Linked DNA regions of Homo sapiens: region 2 is linked to region 1. The links are contacts of gene promoters, found by promoter capture Hi-C in blood cells and fetal thymus (Javierre and others, 2016). All regions are on one chromosome and are shown on one strand. Each heading gives the region's core, a stretch centred on a gene start or on the middle of the fragment in contact. The rest is flanking DNA. Distances are from core to core; before and after follow the strand shown. Region 1 holds the start of CD1C (CD1c molecule). Region 2 overlaps SPTA1 (spectrin alpha, erythrocytic 1).

Region 1 (3,224 bases), core at 187-2,686:
GCTCAAAAGATCTTCCTGCCTCTGCCTCCCATTTAGCTGGGACTACAGGCATGTGCCACCACATTTGGCCAACTTTTTAATTTTTTTATCGAGATGAGGTCTAACTTTGTTGCCCAGGCTGGTCTCAAACTCCTGGGCTCAAGTGATCTTCCCACCTTGGTCTCCCAAAGTGCTGGGATTACAGGCATGAGTCATTGTGCCTAGCACAAATTCATGCCCAGATTTTAAGTGACTGCTCCAATGCATTCAGTGAATAATTAATATGATTTAAGAAACACTATAATAATAAATGTATTTCCTGGATCTCAAAAAAACTGTGTTCATGTATTTACACATATTAACCAGCCAGGGTCACTGATAAGTCACTGAATACTTCATATAAACTACTTAAATCAAACATTGACAAATGCTGCCCTTTTTATACAATGTGTTTTGGTCAGATCACAAAACAACTTAAATTTGGATTTTTGTGGTCTCCCCATGTATGAGTCCTCTTGAAAAGCTGCATGTTCTGACTATCACAATCGTATACCATTCCACACTGTACAGAATTTTCAGTATTTAGTTGAGATGCATGCTGTTCTTCCAGGACTTCAAATTATGAACTTCCCAGGGGGTTAGTCAGTCAAAATGCTGCTCTAGAGAATATAGTTCTAAGTAGATTTGTATCTGGGATTCTATACATTGAAATTAAAATCACAATGCATTTTAATTTTTTGTTTAAACATCTGCAGTTTAAAACTCTTTGATAGAAGAGATTACATTGTTAACCTCTGTGTGTTTATATGCCTAGTAAGACACTGGTATCAACCATGTACTATGTAATTTTTTAGTGAATGACTATACAGATTAAATGCAGTAGAAGGGCTTCTTTATATTTGTTATGGTCCTATGCATTCTGAATGGCTGCAATTTAATCTCTAAGGATAATGTAGAGTGGACTGTAGTTTATATAATTGTGCAGGGAAATCTTGGAAGATGTAAAAAGCAACGTCTCCAATTTATAAAAGAATCAGTGAGAATGAGGAAATAAGAAAGATGGGTGAAAAGAGGTGAAATTGGAAAGAGAAAACTTTGAGGACATTCAAAAGGGGGAAAGAAAGAATGGAGTGATGAGAAGAGGGGACACTATGGAGAGTGGAGGCAAAGTTAAGTGGAGAAACTGGAAGAACTGTGATCTATTAAAACAAGCAGGAACTGAAAAAATGACATGGTTTCTCCTTTTTATCTTACAAATGACATGCAAAATCCAGAGGGACAAAATGACCTTTCTTTCAATGCCATACACCACTTTGTCTAAGGCAGTTGAGGAAGGGAAGTAGATATAATGGAGCTTAGTGGCAGAGCAGCTGGAATCCTGAGAGAAGAGAATAACTTTAGTTCAGAGCAGGTGGGGAAATGAGAGATTGAGTAGGAGGACCAAGGTTGAGGGAAGCAGATCTTCTTAGTTGCTGTCAGCGGCTGATGGGGAAGATTGTTGGTAGAAGGAAGTCAGAATATAGGTACAGAGGGATAAGTTTGCTAAGAACAGAGATCAGCAAACAGCTTTTCTGAGAGAAAGAAACATCTGCAAATGACATGCTGTTTCTGCAGTTTCTGCTGCTAGCTCTTCTTCTCCCAGGTGGTGACAATGCAGACGGTAAGAACATCGCTGTCAGCTGCAAGGTTACATGTATCTGGGTAGAGTGTGCTGGGCTTTCCCGAGATGGATCAATAGAGATGCCAGAATGCTTGCCATCTGAGCATACCTGTCTCCAGGTCCAGTTTACTCTTTTGGAGGATGGTGGCAGAGCATGGGCTCTGTGTAAGGAAAATGTTATAGCTAAAGTAGTCATTAATGTTTCTCTGTGGTAACTGGTTCAATTTCCATTTCCTCTCCATTTTCCGTTAAAACAATCAGGGCCCAGGAAAATGATGTGGTTTCTCCTTTTTATGTTACAAATGACACGCAAGGTCCAGAGGGATGAAGCAACCTTTCAATGCCACGCACCACTTTGTCTAAGGCAGTTGAGGAAGGGAAGTAGATAAGATGGAGCTTAGTGGGAGAGCAGCTAAAATCCTAAGGGAAGAGAGTAACTTTAGTTCAGAGCAGATGGGGAAATGAGAGATTGAGTAGGAGGCCTAAGGTTAAGGGAAGCAGATTGTCTTAGTTGCTGTCAGTGGCTGATGGGGAAGATTGTCTGTTGGTAGAAGGAAGTCAGAATATAGATGTAGAGGGATAAGTTTGCTAAGAACAGAGATCAGCAAATGGCTTTTCTGAGAGAAGGAAACAACTGCAAATGACATGCTGTTTCTGTAGTTTCCGCTGCTAGTTCTTCTCCTCCCCGGTGGTGACAATGCAGATAGTATGAACATCTCTGTCAGCTGCAAGGTTACATGTATCTGGGTTGAGCATGATGGGCTTTCCCAAGATGGATCAATGAAGAAGCCAGAATGGTTGCCATTTGAGCATACCTCTCTCCAGGTCCAGTTTACTCTTTTAGAGGATGGTGGCAGAGCATGGGGCTCTGTGTAAGGAAAATGGTATAGCTAAAGTAGTCATTAATGTTTCTCTGTGGTAACTGGTTCACCTTCCATTTTCTCTCCATTTTCCTTGCCTCTCTTTTTTTTTTTTTCCTTACACTACTTGCCCTTCTTCCACCAAAAGCATCCCAGGAACACGTCTCCTTCCATGTCATCCAGATCTTCTCATTTGTCAACCAATCCTGGGCACGAGGTCAGGGCTCAGGATGGCTGGACGAGTTGCAGACTCATGGCTGGGACAGTGAATCAGGCACAATAATTTTCCTGCATAACTGGTCCAAGGGCAACTTCAGCAATGAAGAGTTGTCAGACCTAGAGTTGTTATTTCGTTTCTACCTCTTTGGATTAACTCGGGAGATTCAAGACCATGCAAGTCAAGATTACTCGAAATGTAAGTTCAATCATCTAAATTATGGGAGTTCTTTAGAATGTTCTATTTCAGGGAAATATTCTCTACTAATTTTTGGGCCATTTCCCATTATCCCATCCCACCATAAAATTCTGCATAGATGAACCTTTTAAGGGATATTCCTGATGTTGACTCCCTCAAATTTCCTAGGCTCTTGCTATTTTTGGAATTTTTTTTCTTGTGCTTTGTTATCTTCCACCTGTGGTCTCCCTCTGTATCCTACAATCCAGAGATACACAGCTGTCCCACTCTGTGCTTGACTCCCTTAAAATAAAATCTATTCCCCCATTCA
Region 2 (3,224 bases), core at 474-2,973, 360 kb after region 1:
GTCAGGAAGTTAGACGAGCAAAACTAAGGTCTATCTTCTTAAAAGGCAAATTTTAACTATGCATTAACTTTAAAGCATATATGGTGTATAAATTAAGCATCTCATAAAGAATGTCATTACTCTTGTTTGCTCAACAGGAACCCTTAGCTCTAGGAAAGAGAGGTCTCTTCTTTTGTAAATTTATTTATTCAAGCAACTAAGTTTTATTGGGTGCTTACTAAGTACCAAACATTGTGAAAAAGGCATATCTGTGCCTTCTAGGAACTCATACTTTAGGTTAAGAATGGATAAAAACAAAACAAAACAAAACAAAAAACAAACAAAAAACAGAGCATAGGCACTAATAGCAATTAAAAAACAAAACTGAAAGCAAAAGTATCATATGGAGTAAAATAAGATGTTAATGTTGCTCAGGGGTGGGAACACTACTCTGAAATACTGAGGAGTACAGCTTCATAAAGGGAAGGAAGCACCATTGGAATGGGTGTGGGTGCTATTTATTTAAACTGTGTCAAAAACTATAGCTTTCCAGTGCTGAACTGGGGAGGGGATTTCCAAGAGGAACTACAGTCATTTGCCAAAATTTGCCTCCTTTTTTCTTGAAAAGCATTGCATTGAGAGCTACAACTTCCTGGACCCTCTACTCTAATGCTCCTCTCAGCTGACTGATGCGATAGAGCCAAACGTGGGAACTGTTCCACAAAGTATATGTTTGAGAGGTGAATTTTGGATTGTGATAATGTCTAGACTTTAGTAAGATATTCACAGTTCTCTGGAATTTGGTCCCAATATTATTTTTAAGTTTATCTCTTACTACTTCTCCTTACCACCCCCTCCCCAAACATGTTCTTATGCTTATTCTTTTCTCATGATTATGTCTTTTTTTGCACAGTTCAGTCTACATGAATTGTTTTCTCTTCTGTTAAAAGTTTGACTGATAAGGTGTAATAAAATGTTACTTTATCTACAGTGCATCATCTATTCTACCCAACTCTGAATTCCCACTGCTGTTTGTTACAATGTGTGTTTTCGGCCTCATTATGTTCTACCATAGTTATTTGTATTCAACAGAATACTGAATACAGTAGAAGACTGAATACTACTGTCTCTTCAGTAGAACAAAAAAGCTTCTACATTATAGAAGCTTACTTAATTGGCCTACATGGCTTCATATTCTTTCAAACTTTGTATTTTATTGCTTCTAGTTTCAAACCTGAAATTTTTTATGCCTTGCAAGAGGTGAGACTTAAACGTAGTGATGCCCTCCAAAACCAGCAGTGAACAGCATCTGTACCCAGACTGCTCCCAGACAGTCTACTTAGAGGCCAGACACGGAAGTTACCCACCCCACTCTACCTGGCCTTGCTGAGGAACAGGTAGAATTTCTGGGCCTCATTTAGGCTCTCCTTACGATCCTTTGTACGCCCCTGCAGGTCTTCCCAGGCCTCATTCAGCTCCATTTTCTGTCTCTGCAGGTCCTCAGTGGCATCTGGATGGGACTCACTGAGCCGCTCTGCTGTCTCCCCCAGTATGGTCACCTGGGGAGGTACAATAGCTCTGATAATCAGCCTAGAGACACACCTGAATCTTAGCAAAAGGAGAATCCTGAGTCCCAGTATTCAGCTCCTCAAATAGATATCAGTGATGTACAAGTATGTCATCATACTTTACAAAATAATATCAACCTTTTAGTCCACATAACTCCCTAAGGTAGTTACAATTGGCATTACCATACTTCTTTTTAAAAATAAGAGAGTTGTGGGGAAGAGTGGTTAAGTGACTCTGCTGGTTAGTGGCAACCTCAATTAGGAAACCCAAGGGTCTTGATTCTTCATGTGAGGAGCTTCTTTTTGCTCTGCATGATAATGCCAAGCCTCTGAGTATATCTGACAAGCTCCAGAGTACACTTTTGGGTTGAAACAGAGTTAAACAACTCATTCAATTCCTTGCTAAGAAAAACATGCACCATACTCAGATATTGGCCTGATCATCCTGGGTATGGACATTTGCTATTTCTTCTGGGCTACTGGCCTCCACCTAGCTGCCACAAGATCTGGTCACTTGTAACCCACCAAAGAGGCAAGGGGATATAGGGTGCTCACTCAGACAGCAGGAGTTTAACAAGTTTTTTCCCCATGTTAATGGTCATGGGGCATATCCTTTTCATGGTCTTGCCTTAGGGACAGTGTACAAGAATAAATATGGCACAGAACAGAGAGAAATATAAGAATAAAAGACTGAAAAAGAGAACCAAAGAAGAGGGCATTGGTATACGGCTAAATATAGACTGGAAAGTGTTGGAAAAGCTTTGAAGGACTTGTCTCACCTTATCTCCCAGGGGTACGAGGTCCCTTTCAAAGCCCTCATGCCGTCGCTGAAGAGCCTGAACACTGAACAGATCTGAGCCAGGGTCTGCAGCACTGAGGGCCTGGCATTTCTTCTCAATCTGCTCCTTCGTGTCATCTGCTTCTCTGGTATACAAGAGAGTAGAGAGTTCAAAAGTAAGGATATGTACCAGAGGCAGGCTAGTGGGGGTCACAAGAAAGTTATCATCACTACCACTCACCATCCTCCCACCCACCCCCCCACCCCAACCAATTATCATCATTGTTTTTTATGTGCTAGAAACTTAGGCTCATTTAATCTTCACAACTCCAAGAAGCATAGTTACTATTACTATTCCCATTAAATAGATCAGAAAACTGAGGACTAAAGAGGGTAAGTATTTTCTCAAGATTATACCACTGCTGAATGGTGGAGCCTAAGCTTGAACCAGGCCATCTGACAGCAGTCACATGCTTAACCATCATATTTCCATAGCTTTCTATCTTAAGCATTCTACACACACAGACCTGTCTGAGTCTGTTTTTCCTTCCCTGCATCATCAAAAATACATTTATACACAATGAAGGTGTTTAGTTTCTGTTTTGTTTGTTTACTTTTTTGTATGTGTCTTTGTGTTTCTTAGTTTGAAAATCAAACAAGAAAAATGTTGAATGAGCTGATAGTCAATGTGATGTCTGTTGCCCTCTACTGTCAGCTTCTAGTTGAGAAATGTAATTACTTAAACCTCCTGTTTCAACTTCAAGTTTCTTTCTTTCTGTTTTGATTTTGAAGATAAGGGTCTCACTCTGTTGCAATAGGCTGGAGTGCAATGGCTTGATCAAGGCTCACTGTAGCCTCAGCCTCCTGGCTCAAGTGATCCTCCCAGCTCAACCTCCCAA

Evidence for each region. Contacts are between HindIII fragments. The CHiCAGO score rates a contact against its expected background, and 5 or more counts as called.
Region 2: a fragment that was not itself captured here is called in contact with the fragment with the promoter of CD1C in region 1 in 1 of 17 cell types (fetal thymus); the score reaches 6.1 in fetal thymus.

Annotation. Positions count from the first base shown.
Region 1 is chr1:158,288,487-158,291,710 of GRCh38, forward strand. CD1C (CD1c molecule) reads left to right here and starts at 1,437. Exons shown (of 6, transcript NM_001765.3): 1 at 1,437-1,639; 2 at 2,648-2,914. The coding sequence starts at 1,579. It also overlaps a transcript of CD1B not described here. The HindIII fragment of the contact is 9,220 bases long and covers 1-3,224 here.
Region 2 is chr1:158,646,183-158,649,406 of GRCh38, forward strand. It overlaps SPTA1 (spectrin alpha, erythrocytic 1), which reads right to left. Exons shown (of 52, transcript NM_003126.4): 26 at 2,327-2,471; 27 at 1,357-1,538. Among named protein-coding and RNA genes, the nearest start is that of SPTA1, 39 kb to the right of the region's middle. The HindIII fragment of the contact is 1,162 bases long and covers 1,143-2,304 here.